3 separate regions of the Homo sapiens genome follow, and all the other regions are linked to region 3. The links are contacts of gene promoters, found by promoter capture Hi-C in blood cells and fetal thymus (Javierre and others, 2016). All regions are on one chromosome and are shown on one strand. Each heading gives the region's core, a stretch centred on a gene start or on the middle of the fragment in contact. The rest is flanking DNA. Distances are from core to core; before and after follow the strand shown. Region 1 overlaps C7orf25 (chromosome 7 open reading frame 25). Region 2 has its middle 83 kb from the start of C7orf25. Region 3 holds the start of GLI3 (GLI family zinc finger 3).

What was found. The method cuts DNA at HindIII sites, captures the fragments that hold promoters and counts their contacts. A CHiCAGO score of 5 or more calls a contact.
Region 1: a fragment that was not itself captured here is called in contact with the fragment with the promoter of GLI3 in region 3 in 1 of 17 cell types (endothelial precursors); the score reaches 5.5 in endothelial precursors.
Region 2: a fragment that was not itself captured here is called in contact with the fragment with the promoter of GLI3 in region 3 in 1 of 17 cell types (M2 macrophages); the score reaches 5.5 in M2 macrophages.

The regions. Positions count from the first base shown.
Region 1 is chr7:42,905,752-42,910,295 of GRCh38, forward strand. It overlaps C7orf25 (chromosome 7 open reading frame 25), which reads right to left. Exons shown (of 2, transcript NM_001099858.2): 2 at 3,522-4,544. The coding sequence ends at 3,884. Among named protein-coding and RNA genes, the nearest start is that of C7orf25, 4.0 kb to the right of the region's middle. The HindIII fragment of the contact is 1,035 bases long and covers 2,602-3,636 here.
Region 2 is chr7:42,826,695-42,831,505 of GRCh38, forward strand. No RefSeq gene overlaps it. Among named protein-coding and RNA genes, the nearest start is that of C7orf25, 83 kb to the right of the region's middle. The HindIII fragment of the contact is 2,690 bases long and covers 624-3,313 here.
Region 3 is chr7:42,235,603-42,239,927 of GRCh38, forward strand. GLI3 (GLI family zinc finger 3) reads right to left here and starts at 1,607. Exons shown (of 15, transcript NM_000168.6): 1 at 1,369-1,607. RefSeq lists an enhancer at 1,351-2,332. The HindIII fragment of the contact is 5,518 bases long and covers 1-4,325 here.

The sequences.
Region 1 (4,544 bases), core at 1,869-4,368, 670 kb after region 3:
GTTCTGTAAAATGAGTCTGAAAACATTTCCAATACAAGGATGACCTGAGACAGTCAGCCTGTTATTACATGAGTCAAGAAACACCCCATGGGCTTCAGTCCCATACCCAGGCCCTGTTCTCAAACAGGAGAGCAGGCCAAAGTTCTCCTCTTGGGGCAGAGGACAGGGAGTAAGAGGAACAACACATCTTACCATGTTACATTTCAACCCCACTTACGGGGTTATGCTCCATATTACCTTTTAGAGCACGGGGATTATTCGGTATTTAAAAGTAGGAAAAAACTTGTCTAATAAAGTTAACTGCATCTGCACATATTTTGGAGAAATTACTTAACTTCTTTAACAATTTTTTAAATGGTTATTGCTTATTTAGGCTATTTTTCAATTCTAATTTACATTTCCTGAAACAGTCATCTGTTCCAATGAGATTTCCCAGTATATCACAATTATCTATATATCTCCCTCCAAAGCTGTTTTATATCCTTCCTGTGCTTGCAGCTAGCACTCTTATTTTATGCTTTCTGCTTTTTATGCCTCATTCACAATTCTTTTATCTTTTTCTTTTTGAGACAGGGTCTCACTCTGTTGCCCAGGCTGGAGTACAGTGGTACAACCAAAACTCACTGCAGCCTTGACCTCCCAGGCTCAGGTGAGCCTCCTGCCTCAGCCTCCCTGGTACCTGGGACTGCAGGAGTGCACTACCATGCCTGGCTAATTTTTGTATTTTTTGTAGAGCGGGGTTTTGCCATGTTGCCCAGGCTGGTCTTGAAGTCCTGGGCTCAAGGGATCCACCCTGCCTCAGCCTCCCAAAGTGCTGGGATTACAGGTGTAAGCCACAGCGCCCAGCCTGACCTGTCTTTTTCTATATGGACTACATTTATTCTCCATCCTCACCTTTTGTTTGGAATTTATTCAGCTATTCAGCTTGGTTTAATTTATACTATCAGTTATATTTCCTGTTTGACACTCAAAACTAAATAGCTCTATTTTTCAATAGCAAAATTTCAAAGTGTCTGTTGACTCTAAGTAAGATGAGGATTTTTAGCATGCTTTTACTTTCCTCAACCACTTCCAATTCCCAGGCATAACGACAGTTTATTACGTATCTTCACACTTTAGAACTATTTGGACATTTGTTTGCTTTATAGCTATAGCTCTGTGATTCCTTTGACTTACCAGTTAACTGATATTTAATTGAACATTCCTTTTATAACTTCCCTCATTGTTTTTATTGTCTCTTTTTTTTTTTGAGATGTAGCCTCGCTCTTGTTACCCAGGCTGAAGTGCAATGACGTGATCTCGGCTCACTGCAACCTCCACCTCCCAGGTTCAAGTGATTCTCCTGCCTCGGCCTCCTGAGTAGCTGGGGTTACAGATACCCACCAACATGCCTGGCTAATTTTTGTATTTTTAGTACAGACAGGGTTTCACCATGCCAGCCAGGCTGGTATTGAACTCCTGACCTCAGGTGATCTGCCCCTCAGCCTCCCAAAGTTTTGGGATTACAGGTGTGAACCACCACATCCGGCCTTTATTGTCTAATATTTTACCTTTATGAAAGGAATGTTTTGGCCAGCTGGAATAGACCTTGACAGTGTAGATCATGTGTGTGGTCTCTAGGGAAGGTGCTATTTCTTACATTCCAGGATCCAGTGCCCTACTACTTGAGCATATGTACTGCTTGCATTATTTATTACATTGTTAGGAGTTGCAATCACTGGAATGCTTGAAAAAACATCATGGTCTTTGGCAGGGCACAGCTGTGGTCACTTCACAAAGCAGTTTCCTAAAGAGTGCTGTGGCCTGTCCACTTTCTAGTTGGCAAAGATCCCAAGTTCTTAGGTATTGATTGATTCATAGGGAGCAGGGATAGAAATCTACCTTCTTTCTGCTCCTTTAAAACAAGTCTTTTATATGCCATGCCCTTTGTACTGTGTCTGACACATGGCTGTCACTCAATGCTTATTAAACGAATGAGTACATTAATATGTCAATTCTGCCTCAAACAAATCCAACATGTATCCATGACTCTACAGTCCATCATTCCTGCTCTAGCTAAGGTCATTATAGTCCAAACTTTCTTTCAATTTTTATCCACACTACAGATTTTTGTGGTTTCCTTAAGAGACCTGATCATAAGCCACACTTTCTTAAAAATCACCAATGGCTCTCTAATGCCAAACTCTTTAGAGAACTTTGACTTTTTTTTCTAGCTCCATCTTGTTTTATAAACTGTCCACTTGAGCCTGGTCCCTGAACAGGTCCTCATAGTCACAGTTCTGGTACTTTTCCAATCCCATTCCTCCATGTACTTTTGAGTACCCTTTCTCACACATCTTGTGAAATTTCACACCCCAAACCCTCAAACAACACTTCCTCTCTGACTTCCTGGCCCCATAACAAGTACTCCTTTACTCTGTCCCCATAGTATTTTCAACATATCCTAGAGAATTTAGTACATTTAATTGCACTTCAGTTGTTTACTTCCACTTTAGACTTAAGAATTCCTTAGAGCAAACATTCATCTTTTCACACCAAACTATTATAATGCTTGGTACTTAATAGTATCAAGTACTACATGACCTTAATAGATGCTCAAAAAGCTTAAATTCCATTTCTAACACTAGACATATACCACTCTACACTAAACTGGAAGCAAATCACAGCCTTTCTACTAGAAAATGTATTCTGACTTAGTAAAGCAATCTCTCCCCAGAGAACCACCCCCATACACTTAATTTTGCATTCATTTCAGGGTGTTCATGAATGCCAATAACCAAATTCCACCCCAACAAACACTGTGGCTGTAAATTGAGATTCTCTTCTCAACAAATACGACATTTGGCATGGTAGAAAGAGATCAGACTGTGGCTAGAAACATCAAGTTTTAATACCAGCTCCTACACTTAGCATGAGTTAATATTTAAGCTCCAGGACTCAAATTCCAAATTTTTAAATGTGGTGAATACATACCGACTTTGCTAGTTTTGCTTTATTGAAAACTGATAAAGTATCTAGCGCAATGTAGCCATAGAAGTGTATTTTTAACTACAACTTGTGTCATGGAATTGGCATGGAATATTCTGTCACCATCTCATGAAAGTAAGGTAATGCAGTTGTCACTTGCCACTTGCAAATGAAACATGAAAATAGTATTTATTGTTCAAATACTTATAATATGGGGGCTTTCTGTATTGAATTTTTAAAATCTTTTACATAATCCTTTTTCAATTCATTCAAATTAGTATTTTACCTTAAGTGTCCTGGTTTTATCTTATAGTAGTAAGATTGTTGGCTTTCTTTTCACAAAGGTCTACCAATGGGTTCATGGCACTCAAATAACCATAATTCACTTTCTCATTTCTTCTGTATTATGTACTTTTTGTAAAAACACCTATCAGACTGCACCTGACATACAGCAAATAAGTTTTTCATTAATGGTTAACCTTAGAATCTAAAATTGATTACCAACGACTACCTCCCAGCCTAAACCATATAAAGCAATACAATGAAAAACAGGCTTGAATTTTCTCCAGATATTTAATGCAAGATGCAATGTAGCCATATTCCATGAAATGTGGTTAGCAGTAGGGGAGTTGTAGCCCTATCGAATCAAAGTATTACAATACAGCTGAAAGCTTTATATAGACGTATTTCGGTTCTTAATTGCACTAATGCAGACAGTTTGATAGATAAGCTTCTCTCTTGTGCTTTTTCTACTTTGGGAGGTTATATACTTTAGATGAGAGACAAAGAAACTCTACTGGTTTAAGAGTTCTCAGTTTTACTTTTACTATAGACCTTTTTTCCCACCAGTTTAGATGGGAAGACCCAGCCTTTGGTATAAATAACTTACTTCCACAAAAATATTTAAAGGGTATCTTTAGTGTTCACTGTCAGTTGTGTAGTCTTTTGGTAAGGGGGTGGCTAGAGCCTCTTTACTCTCAGTAAGTGCTCTGGGCTGATGGATAAACACACTAAATTTAACACCCTGGTTGTTTGCAGCTCTGACAAAACCACTATTAGCAGTCATTGTGATGGCTTTTAGGGTGTCTCCCGTCCCAAAAATTGTTAATGAGCGGCTATTAATTTTTGAACTGGCCACTAGTCTCAAGGCACGCTCAGAAGGCTGGTCTGGTACCACATTAATTCGCTTAATTAACACAGTGGCCCTCTCTCTCTCCCCAGGTCCTCCTAAGGTATCTAAAATAGACTGAAAGTCCTTGACAGCAGATTCACAAGCAAACAACTCCTTGTCCTTCATAAAGGCCTCCAGCTGAGGTAGAACCTGCTCTTTCCTCTCTTGCTCTGCTTGTTCTGTGAGCACTTTCTCTTTGAAAATAAAGTGGCAGCCTCCATAGCTGAGGGCAGATACATATGTGATTAAAGTAGTAATGTCCAGATTTACTCTTTTGCACACATCGACCTTAATTTCTGTTGGAAACGCAACACTTGCTAGTATATTTTCTCGGTCAACTCTGGTCACCTGCAAAAGTTCAGGGCCCTCATCATCTGATTCACTCTCACTTGGTTGAAGCTCTTCA
Region 2 (4,811 bases), core at 719-3,218, 590 kb after region 3:
CCTAATCAGAGCTGATGCTTTAATGGCGAGAAAAACAGGCATCAAGTATTCAACAAATCTATTCTTTGGCACCTCTTTTAGCTTTTATTAAGGCGAACGTGAACAAGGGCAACGCGAAGTCTAATAAATATAGAGGACAGGAAAGGCTTACGCTGGATTATGGCCAGGCCTGCTTTGCCCATAATAGGGCATTTAATTTTTCATTTATTGATTACACTGTGTTTGCTACAGTAGCCCAGCTTGCCAAGAACATAGCATTATATGAATTCCGAGAGCAGGAAGGACTCAAGGAGTAACATACAAGGAAATTCAAGAAACTTTCTTCAAAACATTGGCCATTGAATACCATTTTTCTCAATTTTGAAAATAAATTTTTTAACAAGTATAAGGCCTCACATTACATGATGTGAAAAGGCTAAAAACAGCAATAGAAATTACATTCATAAAAGTGCATTGCCAACATACAACAAAGGCTTTGGCTTGTCCTGTGCCTGTGGGGATGTAGGCATGGCTGGCAGGGCTGCCTTGTGCTAATCCTCAGCTCCCTGGAGATGCCCATCCCTGGGCACTGGCTTGAAAATAAAAATTTAAACCTCTCTGATGTTTGACATGATACGAACTGAAGCTTACAAGTTGAGTGTCTGTGCTCGTGGATATGTATATGTGAGTGTGGGCTTTGATGTGTGTGTGCCTATGTGGGATCTATTCCTTTTCCTTGATTATTGTCTGTCCTGGTCATATTCTCATACATTTCTTACCCCTCAGAACTTCTTGGTATAAGAGGAGTACCTATTGACTTAAAAGGGAAATTTTAATTTTAGAGCATTAAATTCCATTGGCATTAGTGATTAGGAGACTCACAGGTCTTTGCTCATCAGACATCAAGAAATCAGAGAAGTCCACATCTCAGGACTCTTAAAAATACGATTAACCTCTCTATTTTTTTTTTAAATGCTCTCTTCCAATAAGCAGAGTATTTGGAGCTTAACGATCATGTATTTACTATTTTGGTAGTTTTTAAGCTAATATTAAAATGGTTCTATTCAAAACATTTGGGACTATTTTAATATGTCACTTGCTTAATACAATCATGCAAACATGTTCTCAACAGGTATGTATTTTATTCCCTCCTAAAGGCACAAAGAGAGGAGGGAGACTTGGCTGCTCTTTGCTCTAGAGCCCAAAGGCATGAACCATTGAGGTACAACAGTTTGAAAATACACATGGGCTCTTTTTTGGTACACATTTGGTTTCCATTTGCTTGAAATAGTTTTGTAGCCTAATAAAAAAAGAACCTACATTTTTTATATAGGGAAGTTAACTGGCTGTGGTTGGAAGATTTTTTTGTTTTTTACTCAGTTATTTTAAGGATATTATCACAATAATGCCCAACACTCCATTAGAGTGACGGAAGTGAGCATTGACTTGATGTAGTATGTTTTATTATTCATCATCTAAAACACCAAGTGCCAACACCCACATATGGGGTTATGGCATATGTACAACAGGAAAGCATTTTCTAGAAAGCAGTAGGTCTTCTATAGCATAATATTCCAAGGTTGCCATCATTCTTTAACCAGCTCCCTAAAAGAAAGAGCAAATGGTCAGGGATTTTTTCACGCATAAAACTACCATAAACTCTAATCAAATGGATGCTTGCTTAAGGATTTGAATTCCGGAGTATCTCCCATGCAGAATAAGTTAAGAGCTAGTCTGGAATATTGAGTAAGGGAAGTTCACAGACCTCGCAGAAGCCAGCACAGATGAACATTCAAAAGTTCACAATTTCCAGGCTTAGGTCAGTCCTTAGGAGTTCACAAACACAGATGGAATATTTCTTTTTTTTTTTTTTATACTTTAAGTTCTAGGGTACATGTGCACAACGTGCAGGTTTGTTACATATGTATACATGTTCCATGTTGGTGTGCTGCACCCATTAACTCGTCATTTACATTAGGTATATCGCCTAATGCTACCCCTCCCCCCTCCCCGCTCCCCCCACCCCACAACAGGCCCCGGTGTACAGATGGAATATTTCTAAATACTTCTACTCAATGTTTACTTTCCTAAAATACCAACTAATAAGCACCACTGGAAGGATTTCTTAATTCATGAGTTCCGAATACACCGAGAATTTAGCATTTAGAATCCCCATGATCCAGGTATTTAAAAACTCACCCGTTTATATTCAATCAGACGTCTATTTTTATAGATGTTCATTTATTTGAAATATAAATTGATGTTCAGTAGAAAGCAGATTTCTCAAGAAGTAACCATAGTGGCCTAACAACAAAGAGGTAATATTTTGTATACCAGTGTGCAGCTTTCTCATTGTGGGGGATTACAACAACATGAGTTCCTCTCTAGCCATCCTCTTCAGGAGTGTTGTAGGAAGGTAGACAACTCCCGGACATGGTGGCTCATGCCTGTAATCTCAACACTTCAGGAGACCGAGGCTGGAGAATAGCTTGAGCCCAGGAGTTTGAGACCAGCCTGGGCAATATAGTGAGACCCCATCTCTACAATCATTTTTAAAAAAGCAAATGGACAACAGATGCTAACGCACTTGGAAAAAAAATTCTACCTTCATAAAATAATGGCTGCCAGTGAGTCCTTCTTATGTGGTACTCTTCAGCTTGCCTTCCCCTTCACAGTGATGCTGTAAGACAGGTATTATTCTCATTTTAAAGGAATAAATCGAGTCACCTCCAAGACCACATAAACTAGAAAGCAGAGTACTGGGATTCAGCTTGAAGATGCTGCTAAATTATTCTCACTGTCCATGAGCTTGAGTCTCCCCTTTGTGCCTGGAGTATTAAGGGGAAGAGGACCATTATATTTTTCTCACAGACATTCTCTCCTACTCCCATCGTTCTATTTCCTGCTAACTCCTGACCCCATTCATGTGGCAAAAGAAGAGGCTAGATTGAGCTGAGTGAGAGCAGGTGTTGGAGGAGGCAAAGAATGGAGAGAATTTCCTCAGTCATGGAATTCTATGTGATTGATTTGGGGTGGTCATGGTGTTTCCTTCACCTGACCAGCAATCTTGAAGCATCATCAGTGGTCCGTAAGATGTACATATGGTCGGGGCCTTCTCTGACCTTTTATGTTTCCTTCTAGCATTATCCAGGTGAATGCTGCCTTCGGGTTTCTGGTGTCTGTAAGTCTCCTGCACAGTACCCTGAAATGTCAGGATTTATCAGGAGTAGTCTCAGCAATGACAAAGCCCACCTGGATTTGTGTTTTTGCTTTTATTTCCTGCTTGTTTTTCCTATTAAGTGTGATCACTCCTCTTCTTCTCCACTGGAAGATAAGCTTGACATGGGGAAGATCGTTGACTCGTGTTCACAGCTGAATCCCCGGAATTGTTCCTGACACACAGGAGGAACTGGAGGCCTATTTGTTAAATGAATGAATCAATCAATAAATGAATATATGCTAGTGATTAGCCCAAATAAAGCAGGAACCCAATTGCTATGTTCTATATGAAGGTAATCAGTTGGGATAGGCTCCTTGTAAAAACAAAAAAAAAGAAAAGAAAAAAAGAAAACAAACAAACACAAAAAAAAACAACCCAATGGTTGATTTCTTATACCTGGCATGTGGCTTTTGGGAGTCAGCAAAAGGCTGTGTTCCTACAGTCCCTTAGGGAGCCAGGCTGGGGAGCAGCACCAGCCCTTCTCTGGAGCTCCTTGTCTGAGGGATACGGAGCTAGGTAGAGATGCTCCGACCTAGAAGTGAAACACATCACACTCACAGGTCCTGGCCAGAACTAGTAACGTGGTTCTACTCCACCACAATGGGCCAGGAAATGCAAACTTCCCACTGGCCTGCAAGGCAGGAAGCTGGGACTATTTGGTAAATTGCATGTCTGGTACCACCAAAAACAAGTGAAACAGTGACTCTGTAGGCATCAAAGTTCAGTGTGTAGATTCAGAACACTAGAGCCAGGAAATGGAAGGAGGTGAACATAGAAGATGGCCAAACTAGCTGCATTCAGCGTAGCACTCTTCATAAGCTGTCAGAGGCAGTGCTTGCAGTGTGGCTACAGCCGCACTAGGCAACACAATAATTGACACACAAGAAGAGCTCAAAAAAGATTTGCTGAATGAATGATCACACAAAACACGAATTCTATAGAAGAAATAGAATCAGAATGAGGCTGACTATTGCTGCTTCTATTTGGAATGGTATTGTTTCATGGAAGGATGTGGGTTCATGTATAAGCTACATCAGATAGCTCACTTTTCATTTCCCTGGAGTTAAAACATGTGGCTCTTCAAAGTCACACACACAAGGCTGCAGAAACCCAATACATTGGACAAGAGGCTATAGCCGTAAGTCCTGGGACTCCTGCCATATGAAAACACCCTCCCGTCCTGGAAGATTTCTGCCTCCTCAGATGGGGGCTTGGATCAAGTGCTCTGCTACCCTGGTCTCTCCAGGTTTGAGATGCTGTTATTCTCTGATCCTGGTTTTGGCTTTAGCACTGAGTTATATTATATTGCTGAGGTCATTGTTTATTCTACCACATGGTTGTAGTGGCCTCATTTTATAAATGAAGGAACAAAGAACAAGAAAGTTCATGTAGAGTCCAGTCTCACACTCTAGTTTTATGCTGAGGCCAGGGCAGTGAAACAAGATTCAGTGTGGGTGGTGAGTATGAGTGTGTGTGATGTGTGGTGTGTGTGATACATATATGTGTGTGTGTGTTATGTATGTAGTATGTATGACTGCATGTATGGTGTATGTTGTGTGTGTGACTGTGTGTGTGGGGGGGTGCATTTTTACCTCTGCTGAAACAGCAGTTC
Region 3 (4,325 bases), core at 357-2,856:
TGTATATACTGTGCTCTGGAAAGCCTAACTGGAGAGAAGAGGGAGGAGAGGAAAAGGGGAGCAGGAGGTATTTTTTAGAACTAATAATACCAGCCCGGCTAATGGCACTGCCATGTATTTGCACAGCGGCCGGCCCTCCATACCTTTGACTAAAGGGTTCTTTGACTTGGAGACGCAGACAGTCCATCATTTCAAACTGAAGTGGCAGCTGGAAAATGTGGAACAGCTGGCAAAGAGCTGGGAGAAAATGTTTTACATAAATATATGTACATATAAACTGGCAGAGGGCCATGAGCACTGTACCCAAGGCCAGAATCTACCCGGCAGTCTGCACTGGGGAGATGAGAAGTTGGGGCAGGATGACCAGCGGCGGAGGGAGCCTCCTTAATCCTCTTTCCACGCGGGGTCAGGCAGGGAAGCCTGGGGTGCAGCGCCTCTCGGGGGACGGCATCTTACAGAAGGAGGTGCAATGGGGGACAGGAGCACAAAGTTCAGGAAAGGATAAAAGGCCGGGTGCGGGGTGGAGCGTCCGCTTCGGACAATCTGCTTAAAAGTCGCTTCACAAACTCTGCAAGTTTGGGATCAATATTTACACCCTCTCTGCCTTCTCCCGCCCGTTTTCCCGCTGCTACTCAAGAAAGTAACTGTCCCCTGCTGCTCTGTGTAAACGCGGCACCTTAAATGATTATTGCATGGACCACGGTTACTTTGTGTGTCTGTGCGCGCTGCCCCTGGAAAGGAAAAGAAATAAGAGAATCCCAAATCATATACAGATGGTACAACTTTCACTTTTCCTCTATGACGACGAAGGCGCGCCTCTCTCCATCCGCTCACACCACACCCCCGCCCTCCGAAGCATAGCCCGGGCTGGAGAAGCCCCAGCGGCGGCGGCCCCCGCGGCGGAGGTCCCCGCGCGCACCCACCATGCCTCCCGCCTCCTTCCGCCCATCCCGAGCGCCGTGCGCGCCCGAAGCCCGAGCCGTAGAGCGCCACCGCGCAAAGGAAGGAGCCAGGCGCGTGCGGGGCTCGCGGAGTTCTTCTGAACCCTTTGGATGGGGGCGGAGGCGAGGGGCGCCGCCACCACTGCGGCAAACTTCGTCCCCCCTCCGGGAGGTGAAATTCTCCAATCCGTCTCCGGCCGGTCCGCGGGTCGGACTCTTCGGAAAGGACCTTCCAGGAGGAGGGAGCGAATGCAAGCCTTGCTCGGACGCCTCACCGGCGGCTCTCTAAATCTGGGCGCCTTTTGACAGCCATTTTCACTCCATCCCGTCCCCACGCTGGGGACCACCTCTGGCCCCGGAGGCGCGGGCGCGGCCGCAGGAGCGGGCTGCGGGGTCCGCGAAACAAAGAACTTCGAGCGGGACGTACCTGCGGCGGCAGCGGCTGTCAAGTCCCCGAACTTCCCATAGACCCGCGGACGGGGCGCAGGCTGGCGGCTCCCCGCTCCGCGCGGCCGCGGGCGGCTACGGCTACCGCGAGCGGCCGGGCTGGGCGCGGGGTGCGCCCGCCGCGGGCATGGTGCGGCGCGGGCGGCCGCGGGGCGCGCGGGGAAGGCGGGAGAGCGGCGCGGGTGAGTGGGAGCGGCGGGTGTGCGCGAGTGCGAGTGTGCGAGCGCGCCGGTGGCGCTGCCCCTGCCCGCTCCCTCCCGCTCGTGCAGCTCCGGCATCAGTTTCGGGGATCGTGTAATCCGATCCCTTCTGACTCACAAGCCCTGAGTGACAGTTCTGATTTGGTTCAACCGCGGGAGGGAGGGGAAAGAGAAAGAAAGAAACCCCCAGCCGTACGCCTCTCCTGGCATCCAATCGACTTTCTGGAAAAAGGTCCCATCCCGGCCTGGTGCCCCGTGCTGGGTGGAGAAGCCCCCCGCCCCGACCTGGCACCGCCTGCACTACTCACGGGGTGGAAAAGTTGTCCCTCGGCTCCGCGCTCCCCTCCCGCGCGCTCCCTCCTTCCCTTCTCTCCTCCTCTTCCTCCTCCTCCCCGCGCTCCTCCTCCCCCAAGTTTTAACAGATGTTGCCGGACTCTCCTCGCTCCCTCGCACTCTCTCTTCCTCCGCCCCGGCCCCCGCCCAGTCCCTTTTCTTTCAGCCACTCTCGGGCTCGGAGGGGACGCGCTGAGCAGCAGGACGCCTGCCGCCGCAGGGGGCGAAGTTGGGAAAACTTGGAGTGCTGCTCGCCTTACTTTTGCTTTCTCGCTCCTTCCAGGCCGCGCCGGGAGCCCCCGCTTCTCCCGCCCGCCGGGTCCCCAAGCCCGGAGTGGGTCCCAGCTGCGAGGCGGGCGGCGGCGGCTGGGAGGCGGCGCGTCGCGGGCCGGGGTCGGGGGCTGGGGGGGAGCCCGGGCGCCGCGAGCCACGCGCGCGCTCCCTCCCCGCCCTCCGCCGCCGCCGCCGCCGCCGCCGCCGCCTCCTCCTCCTCCTCCTCCTTCTCCTCCTCCTCCTCCTCCTCCGCCCCTCCCCGGTCTTCACACAGACACATTCATGCCTGCTCCTCCTCTTCCCCCTACTTGACCCCGCGCCCTCCCGGCGCGCCGAAGCCCCACCCACCCGGCGAGGGGAAGGGGGCCCGGGCGTGATGTCACCCGCGCCCTCTCTCTTCTCTCTCCACACCGCCAGGACACCCCCCAAATGCGCGCCCTGGCACTCGTGCTGCGTCCTGTCTGCTCCCATCTTCTCCCACCCAGCCTCTCTTTCTCACTCTTGCTCAAGGGCTGGACTCCCCTTTATTCTTTTAAGGCTTCTCTGATTACCACCGCCCCCCATCCTTGGCTCCCCATCTCCTTGTTTTACATTTTCCCAAAGCCATCCCCGAAACTCCCTCTCGCGGGATGATGCCTTTGGAAGTTCAGGGTTTTTCTCTCCACCGGACTCGTCTGCCCTCGGGGCCAAATCCGCGAAGCGAGGAGGAGCTCCCACCACACAGCCTGCTGTCCCTATGGGCCACTTTATAAAAGACACAAAAACAAAGACCCCAGGCTTGGAGCCTGGTCTCTAACGTGCCGCTTTTCCTTGAGCTACAAAGTGTCTCTGTCCCTGCTTCATTTTCAGAGGCCCATGCTAGTAAAAGTTATTTGGCCTCCTTCCTCGACCATCCAGTCCTTGTTCATCTGCGTCATTTTAATATATCCAACCTGGACATGTAACTTAAAAAAGGAGTTCTCGGGGGGAAACACAGGAAGAAAAAGAAAGAAAAGAAAGCCCCTGTGACATTCCAACATCCCCTCTTTCTGGTTAAGCCGGGTCCACCCAGCCAGAAGTGCCCCGGAGCTCCGGGTTGCTTGTGTGGCGTTGCCGCCAAGTGTCTTGACTGAAGGAAGAGTGTGGGTGGATGAATGATGAGCTATTAGAATTTGAAGAGCATTTTGAGATTCAAATGCTTAACTGAAGAATCTTTTAACGAAATTGAGGGTGGTATTCATTGTTTGTTTCTTGGGACTCCTTCCTTGTCACAATGACATGACAAGTGCAGAGACAGACTTAAGGTTTTATGGTGGAAGTGGTGGAGGTAAGGTGGGGCTAAAGGCCCTAGTTAGCCATTTGTTTTAAGATTTCCCTCGACCTCACGGCTCAGGAAAAAACAAAACACCACTGACTCATCGCAGAGAGCACGAGACTCAGAAGCCCTGTGGCAGCCCCATCTCCGCGCTCACTAACTGGCCTCAGGCCTGGGAGGATTCTCTGAGCCTCCATAGGCTCTGAGCCCATCTAGGGGATAGTGTTAGGAGTGCCAGGTCGCGTACCTCCCAGGATGGCTGAGGGTTTCCAATGAGAAATACATGGAAAAGTATAGAGGGCTACAAGTGTGTAAGAATTATGCTTTTACAATTGAAGAGAATTGCAAGCCACTCTTTCCTTTATATACTCCCAGCATCAGTTACAATTGTTTTTAGTATTCATGTACTGCTTCTGCCTCAATCACATGAATACAAATAGTACATCCTGATAGCCTACTCTGTTCACCCAATGGCAAAAAATAAATACAAAGAAAGACAGCCAATAAATCATCAAATAATAGAATAAACTAGATATTTCGACTCTTACTTCAGTCTTATAGCACATTTTGAATCATGAAGATCTTGATTTTTCAGTTCTTAAAAGACAAGAACAAAGCAAAAGCAGCTAATCTTTCCCCCTATGCCCGTCACAATAGCTAAACAAAAAAGAGGAAGAATAATGCTGTGTCTCTTATGTGTCCAACTCTGCTTTAATGGTAAACCCATACATATAAGTAGGCACATTTTGCAGAAACAGTGGAGGGGTAAAAAACCCACTTTGCCTGAGTGTGGGTTAAATAATGTCATAATGCAGTGACTTTCTCTCTGTGTTAACA